3 separate regions of the Homo sapiens genome follow, and all the other regions are linked to region 3. Evidence: promoter capture Hi-C in 16 types of primary human blood cells and fetal thymus (Javierre and others, 2016). All regions are on one chromosome and are shown on one strand. The core of a region is centred on a gene start or on the middle of the fragment in contact, and the rest is flanking DNA. Distances in the headings are between cores, read along the strand shown.

Region 1 (2,771 bases), core at 142-2,641, 95 kb after region 3:
CCACCATGCCTAATTTTTTGTATTTTTAGTAGAGAGAGGTTTCACCATGTTGGCCAGGCTGGTCTCGAACTCCTGATCTCACGTGATCCACATGCCTCAGCCTCCCAAAGTGCTGGGATTATAGGCATGAACTACCACACCCGACTGATAAAAATCTTGTTTTTTCAAGCAAAATGAGTTGGGAGAGGCTAGTGGATCTTTTACTAGCCTCTGAGTGAAAGTAGAGAAAGAGTGCCCAAGAATTTAAAACTTCTTAGTAGAGTGGAAACTAAATCGTAAATACCAAGTTTTATCAAATGTAATGACAAAAATTGGTCTGCAGTTAGGAGCTCTCATTTCTATTTTCAGCTCTAACACTGACTCATTGTATGACTTGAGGCAAGTCACTAAGCAGTTTCAGACCTCAGCTTCTCCATATAAAAAATGGCAATTAAAATGTTGTACCTACTACATAGAGGAACTAGCATTTATGGAGCAACTGCTCTATGTTCATCTCGTGCTAGGAGCTTTATAATATGTTGTATTTCATTTATTCGATAAGTATTTGTTGAGCACCAACTATGGACAGGATATTGTGCCTGATCTCAGGGAAAGATCAGGCAAAAATCAAAGCCCTTGCTCTTCTGAGCTTAAATTCCAGTAGGGTGGGGTGATAATAAACAAGAAAGATATATATATAAGATACTTTCAAACAGTGACAAGAGCCATGTAGATAATAAAACCAGGGCCGGGTGCAGTAGCTCACACCCATAATCCCAGCACCTTGGGAGGCAGAGGCTGGAGGATTGCTGGAGCTCAGGAGTCTGAGACAAGCCTGGGAAACAGAGTGAGACCTCATCTCTACTAAAAAAAAAAAATTAGCCAGGTGTGGTGGCGTGTGCCTGTAGTCCCCAGCACTGGGGAGGCTGAGGTGGGAGAATCGCTTGAGCCAGGGAGATGGAGGCAGCACTGAGCTATGATGGCGCCGCTGCACTCCAGCCTGGGTTACAGAGCAAGACCCTGTCCCTAAAAAAAAAAAAAAAAAAAAAAGAGCCGGGCGCGGTGGCTCACACCTGTAATTCCTGCACTTTGGGAGGCCAAGGCAGGCAGATCACTTGAGGTCAGGAGTTCAAGACCAGCTTGACCAACATGGTGAAACCCCATCTCTACTAAAAATACAAAAATTATCCAGGCACAGTGGCAAGTGCCTGTAGTCCCAGCTACTTGGGAGGCTGTGGCATGAGAATCGTTTGAACCCAGGAGGCGGAGGTTGCAGAGAGCCGAGATCATGCCACTGCACTCTAGCTTGGGCAACAGAGGGAGACCTCCATCTCAAAAAAAAGAAAAAAAAAGAGAGAAAAATAAAGATAATAAAACCAGATAATGTGGTAGAAAGTAACCCAAGGGGGGGGATACTTATGTGGGGTGGTGACATTCAGTTGGGACCCAAATGATGAGAAGCAGTCAGCAGAGTATATGAGACAACAGCTGAGGAGAGCTCCAGGTAGGCAGCAAGGTCCAAGGCTCTGATGCAGGTAGGGGCTTAAACTGTTTGGAAGGCCAGGTAAGACATTAATGGGTAGGATAATCACAGAGAGGCAGGCATGAGCCAGAACACAGTGGCCTCAGCCTTCAGGCTGTGGCTGGGTGTTTGGATTTTAATCTAGTTGATCTGCTTTACTTAAAAAAAAAAAAAAATCAGAGAAAAAAAGAAAAAAAAATCATTCTGGGTATGTTAATGAGTACGATTATTGTCAGGCAATAATAAAAGCAGAGATAACCATTAAGGAGGCTGTTGTCTTGTTTGCTTAACTGACAGAAATAAATTTTTCTGTAAAAGGTCAGATAGCAAATATTTCAGGCTTGCAGGTCACTTGAGCTCTCTATTGCACATTCTTCTCTTCTTTCTCCTCCTCCTTTTTTTTTTTTAACAGCCCTCAAAAAATGTAAAAGCCATTCTTAGCTCTTGCACAATAGAAAAACAGGAGGTTGCATGCCAGATTTGGCCTGCCTAGCTAGGCAGCAGTTTATGGACCCCTAGCTTATAGAGAAGTAGAAACTGACCAGCATACATTTTAGGACCCAATCCAGAACTGACGGGACTTGATGAACTGACTCTGTCTGGGGAGAAGGTTAGTTAAAGAGGAAACAAGAATGGTGTCATTGACTAGGCAGAAGGTGGTGCCATTTACTGAGATGCGGAAGAAGTAGATTTGGGAGCGGGGTGGGGGAAGAGGGGAGAAGGGAAATCAAGAGTTAAGTATGAATTGCCTATTAGTCCTTCAAGTGGAGATGTCAAGTAGGGAGCTCGATATAGACTCTGGAGCTTATGAGAGAGGTCAGGAGATCCATGTTTGGGAATTATCAGTCTACAGACACATTTAAAGTCATGGGATTGGGCTGGGGATGGTGGCTCATGCCTGTAATCCTAGCACTTTAGGAGGCCAAGAAGGGTGGATCACCTGAGGTCAGGAGTTCGAGACCAGCCTGACCAATATGGTGAAACACCATCTCTACTAAAAATACAAAAATTAGCTGGGCTTGGTGTCGTGCTCCTGCAGTCCCAAGTCCCAGTTACTCGGGAGGCTGAGACAGGAGAATTGCTTGAATCTGAGAGGCAAAGGTTGCAACGAGCCGAGATTGCGCCACTGCACTACAGCCTGGAGGACAGAGCACGATTCCATCTCAGAAAAAATAAAAAATCTAAGGCTGGGCGCGGTGGCTCACACCTGTGATCCCTGCACTTTGGGAGGCCGAGGTGGGCAGATCACCTGAGGTCAGGAATTCGAGAC
Region 2 (2,700 bases), core at 167-2,666, 120 kb before region 3:
AAAATAAATTGAGAACACAAAATGGCCACTACCATTTCTTCTACTCAGTGGTAGGCTGATTTACAGACTCACACAGGATGAGAGCATTCAAATGAAGGCATTTGGCAGAGAAAGACTGGAACATGGAGCAGAAGAGATTTGGAAATAGAGTCGTTTCCATCACGCAAATCTTCATTTTATCACAGGTTTGTGGGACCAGGGCAAGAATTCAAACAACAATTCACATACCATGTATCTAAATATTTAAAAGCTATAAGTCAAGATAAGAAATTATTCAATAAAACCTGTCTTCTTCTCCTGTCTTCACAAATGAACCTCCATAACATTCTGGAAGGCCAGGTATGACTTTAGAATCCTCAGACTCTTCAGACCAGAATGCAGCAGCAGAAGGAAAGGCAGCCCCGCTCAGGGCCTGCCTGCCGTTTGTTCCAACCCTCAGCCAGGGCCCCTTCTCAAGTGCACATGCTTGACACCAGCCTGCACCTCCGGGTTCTGCCCACTGCCCAGTCCCAAGCAGCTATCCCTTGGCCACTGGCTGCACAGGCTACCTTGAGAGGGTGGACCATGGAAACAGGCCCACCCAGAACCTGGAAGTGGGCTTGGGCCATTCGGGCAGAGATTCTGGGGTCCTGAGTATGGAGCATGGGCTGGAAGGGGTGGGTGTGGGCATAGACTCTGTCTGGGCATCACCCTCAGCCCTGAGGACCCCCTCGCCCCAGGGACAAAGGGAGGCCTGCGGGGAAGGGATCTCCAAAGGGCAGGGCTTGCCTGGTCTCAGAGTGGTACTGGGTCACTTTGTCACACTGACTGGGCAGGCTTGTCCATAAAGTGAATTGAGAATAACTGGAAGCTTTTTTGAGAGTTTTCCCTATTCCATCTGGGATCTAAAGATTGCCCCTGGATTACTGACGATGCGAGAGGGATTTCTTTAGCCATGACTCTATGTTGGGGGAGATTCAGCACTAAGTACATTTCTCTTCATCTCTGGAAACAAATCCAAACTATAAAACCAAAACCAAAATAGAACAACGAAAAACAAATCCCTCTTCCTTCCCTTGACACACTCAGCCCATTTCTCTGTCGGTTTCCTTCAGCTCTGACACCCTCCAATCAGGCTCTCTCCCATCGTTCTTCTGCCTTTCCGTGCTCACTTTCCTCCCCCCGCCCTTCTTCCCTGGCTCCTGTCTTAATCCCTGCCATAGCGACAGGGAAAAAAACAACATAACACTGGGGCAGATGAGAGCTGAGTTTCAGAGCCCTACTGAGGAGCGCAGGCTAGCGGGGAACCAGGAGTTTCCATAACGAAACTGACAAGAGGAAAACCTTGAAATCTTGGAGGAGTAATGAGGAAAACCTTGGGGTTAGAGAAAGAAGAGGCCTTCCAAAAGCCCAGAGGAGGCCGAGATAAAAAGAACAAGGAAGGGCCAGGCGCAGTGGCTCACGCCTGTAATCTCAGCACTTTGGTAGGCCGAGGTGGGTGGATCATGAGGTCAGGAGTTTGAGACCAGCCTGGCCAACATGGCAAAACCCCATCTCTACTAAAAATACAGAAATTATCTGGGCGTGGTGGCATGCGCCTGTAGTCCCAGCTACTCAGGAGGCTGAGGCAGGAGAATCACTTGAACCTGGGAGGCGGAAGTTGCAATGAGATGAGATCATGCTGCTGCACTCCAGCCTGGGTGACAGAGTGAGACTCCATCTCAAAAAAACAAAAACAAAAAAGAACAAGGAGGAAGGGCTTTGGAAAGTTGGTAAAAGGTTAATCTATTTGCCCTCCATGCCACTTAGCCCCTGACCATCCCAAAACACAGAAGTCAACATCCTTGGGATGAATTATGAGCAGAGGGAGAAATTCCAGGGCAGGGGAGCAGACATCAGGAAAACTGAGATCCTTCTTCTGAAAGGACATAAAAAGTTAATATTTTTGTAAATTGGAACCCAAGCATTTCAGGCCTGGTGGGATGATAAGGGGTTAAAGCTTCCACGGAGCAAACCTAAAGTAGCTTGGAAGGGTGTGGCCCCCAATTTGATTTATTTTAGAAGCATGGAAAGCCAATGAATGTGCTTCTGGCCACAAGACAGGACAGGTGAGAAAAAAGAAAGGAAAGAGGCCTGGTTTGTGTTTCCTGGAAAGGGAGTGTCGTTACAGCTCTCCTGGGGAGCACACACACGCCTCTCGTAAATGTATATGAGCCCTGATTAGTTGGCTCCTGCTCACCACCCTAGCATGTTCCCAGTGGCTGGCTCCCTGGCGTTCTGGCACTCAGGGCTGCCAACACCTGCCAACAACAAGGAAGCTGGGTATTGGGGCTGCAGCTTTTGGAAGCTGCTTATGAAACAGATGACTAAGCCCTGGGGGCAGGGGGAGGGTGCAGCTCATGCCTAGCTCAGCGAGAACTCAATCCAAGTCAGCCTTGACCCGGTGCCAACCATGTGCCAGGCTAGTCCCTGGGGATGTGAAGATGACGAGGCATGGTCCCTGCTCCAAAGGACCAGGCATGCCCATAAAGAATTGTAATCAGAGGCATGAATCTGCAGAAGAGGAGAATACAGGGTTTGGCAGTGGACATGATTTCCCAGGGGGACAGTGATAGAGGCAAAAGAAGGGGGAAGGGGAGTTTCTCCATTCATGTAGTCAGGCTAAGAGTTTTAGCCTCTTCCTAAAGCACACACCCTCTTCCTCATGCCCTCTTAATCCAG
Region 3 (2,700 bases), core at 68-2,567:
CGCTAGAGTTCCTCACCTGTTCCACCTTGCCCCTCCTGCCAATGCTCTGCGCTCGGCCTCCTGTCATGGTCTTCACAACGCCAGCCCTGGAGTAAGCCCCAGCGGAGGGGGCGGGGACTCCGAAAGGGTGAGGGGCTCTGGTCTGCGATGGGGCCACGGAGGAGACGAGGGCGGGCTGCACCAGCCACTGCAGGTCCGGACTGGTCGAGATGGCAGTGACCGTGGGAATGAAGTTGGCACTGGAGACGGCCAGGTCCGTGCAGAAGTCCTAGAACAAAACAGAAGGGGAAAGCCGACGTGAGCGAGCAGGTTCCGGACACAGGTGGGGCGAGTTCCCAGTGCCGCATGCAGCAGTGAAGAGAAACGATCCTGCCACGGACATTTCATCTTAAATGTCCCTCATCCTGGATGAAAGGTCTCCCCCTTTTCCTCCCAGGCATTCCGCAGCGCAGTGCCTGTCTCTTCCATCCTGCCGCTGCGTTCCCGTTATCCCTTCAGCATCACTTGCTTGAAAGGGGGTTTGTTATAAATATCCCTGACGTCTGCGCTGACGCAGGCGCCGCTCCGGAGTCTCCAGAATGAACTCGCTTTTTATCAATGAAACTGCCTTACACACCCGCCCGCTGCACCCTCCTCCCTCATCCCTCCTCCGTGCTCCAGGCTGCCGGGGGAGGGGGGATTGCCGCTTTCTGCCACCTCCCCGGAGAAGCCAGGCTCTAGTTAGCGAGTTTGTGCTTGGGACACGTCTGCTCCAGCTAATGTCAGAGATCCGTCCTGGAGTGCAGACCAGAGGTTGCTCAGAACGAACCTGCCTCCCGAAGGGGGAACCAATTCTTACTATGGCAAGCGTGCGTGCGCTCAGAGCAAGTCCCGAGCCCCCGAGCCGGCACCGCTCCGGCCACGGCAGCCTCCCTCCAGGCACAAGGGAGCCCCCTACTCATCTACTGGAGCGTCCCGCCCGGTGTCTCCTCCTCCGCGACCCCAAGCCCCCGGCCCCGCGGCGACGGGAAGCCAGCCTTACCTGCGCGTTGACAGGCGAGCCCATGCTGGAGAAGGAGTCTGCGGGTGAGTGGTAGTAAGAGAGGCTATCCCCGGCCGGGGACGCGCTGCTGCAGCGGGAGGATGACGCCTCGTAGTCTGCGTTGAAGCCCGAGAACATCATCGTGGCGGTTAGGCAAAGCCGGGCGAGGGGCCGAGGGGCGGAGACAGGTGGGCGCTGTGGAGCAGAGCTGGGTAGGAGCACGGTCACTGCTCGTTCGCTGCGCCGCGGCCGCCGGCTCAGTCTTGGCTTCTCAGATGCTCGCTGCAGATGCGGTTGGAGTACGAGGCGCCGCAGCCACTGCTTTTATAACAAGCGTTTTATGAATGAGTGTAAACGTCACGGGCTCAACCACGGTGGCGCCAGAGGGGTGGCGCGCGGGCCTGGGCGCTTCTGCGGCCGCCCGGCTGCGTCCCCAGCGCTCGCAGCTCCCTGCCCCCGCCTTGGCGCGTGTCCTAATCTCGTGAGCATTTCGCAGTTCCTGTCTCAGAGGTCTCGTGGGCCCCCCAAGATGAGGGGTTTCGGGGATGGCTCCCCCCAGGGCTACAGGGAAAGGCCGTGGAAACCTGCTGACGCAGATGTCCTAATATGGACATCCTGTGTAAGGGGGGAGGGATTGACGGGAACTGCTCGCGGGCTGCAGCCAACACCGAGGGTGCAGTGCGGGGGGAGGCGGGGGCCGCGGCTGGGGGAGGGGAGGCGGGAACGGCGCAGAATGAGAGAGAACATTCGCACCTGGTTCAATGCGGACCCTTGTTCCCGAGGTCGGGGGGGATGGGGCAGAGAGCGCCTTTTTACCCTTGTACGGAAACTGAAGACAGTTCTGAGGCTCAGAGATAGGAGAAACGGCATCGAGTACAGGACCCCGAGGACTTAAGCCTCGGCTCCCGAAGGAATGCGCCCCTACCCCCATCCCCAATTCTAGCCCTAATTCAGTGCAAAGCGTGGAAGCAGACCTTCATCCCCTAACCTCCAGCCCTCGGGCTCGAGCAATACTAGCACTGTTCCTGCGTTTGGAAGCAGAAAGTGGAGGATCCAAAATAAGAGAATACGATAACCTACTTTACGATACTGGGTACTTTATTTATTTATTTTTTTAAAGAAGACAGCGCATTTATTTATTTATTTTTCTCGGCCATGTGTGGGAATATTAAGGAAACTGTCAAATCCCTGAGACACCAGCAGATAAACACTGTGCAAAACCTACGTGCGAAGACATTTGAAGGGGGTGTCTGCCCGGTTCTGAGCTGGGCCCCAGGGGTAGGGAGTGCGAGGTGTGGTTATGTGGGCAGGGTGGTCAGTTCGGGATGACAAGGCGGGGTGTGCTTCCTGCGGGGAACTCAAATCTGCGCTGAGGGCTGGTTCGGTCCCGCCAGGAAGCTGTGCTTACGGGAGCCCGCAGCGGGTGATTTTCCAGCGCGGACTTGGAGGGTGGAGGACGGGGGCTGGAAGGACAGTGTCCAGCTGCGCCTGGGCGGAATACCTCGACTGCTGGGACCCCAGGAGCGGCTCCACGTCCTGGAACACGGGGCTTTGGGGAGGCAAGGTGCTCCAGAGTGTGCCACGCCCCCCAATCTCCTGCCCTGCTGCGTAGGACAGCCGGGGTCACGCTGCCGGGGCTCAGCCCCAGCGCGCTGGCCACCTCCAGGGCGCGAAGACGC

What was found. The method cuts DNA at HindIII sites, captures the fragments that hold promoters and counts their contacts. A CHiCAGO score of 5 or more calls a contact.
Region 1: a fragment that was not itself captured here is called in contact with the fragment with the promoter of FOS in region 3 in 17 of 17 cell types (monocytes, M2 macrophages, naive B cells and 14 more); the score reaches 42.2 in monocytes.
Region 2: a fragment that was not itself captured here is called in contact with the fragment with the promoter of FOS in region 3 in 1 of 17 cell types (monocytes); the score reaches 7.4 in monocytes.

What each region holds. Positions count from the first base shown.
Region 1 is chr14:75,182,225-75,184,995 of GRCh38, reverse strand. No RefSeq gene overlaps it. Among named protein-coding and RNA genes, the nearest start is that of TMED10, 7.0 kb to the right of the region's middle. The HindIII fragment of the contact is 3,996 bases long and covers 1-2,771 here.
Region 2 is chr14:75,400,082-75,402,781 of GRCh38, reverse strand. No RefSeq gene overlaps it. Among named protein-coding and RNA genes, the nearest start is that of JDP2-AS1, 26 kb to the left of the region's middle. The HindIII fragment of the contact is 1,128 bases long and covers 853-1,980 here.
Region 3 is chr14:75,277,445-75,280,144 of GRCh38, reverse strand. FOS (Fos proto-oncogene, AP-1 transcription factor subunit) reads right to left here and starts at 1,317. Exons shown (of 4, transcript NM_005252.4): 1 at 1,022-1,317; 2 at 17-268. The coding sequence starts at 1,162. RefSeq lists enhancers at 1-399, 986-1,045, 400-1,327 and silencers at 1,416-1,475, 1,826-1,915, 2,644-2,700. The HindIII fragment of the contact is 6,704 bases long and covers 1-2,700 here.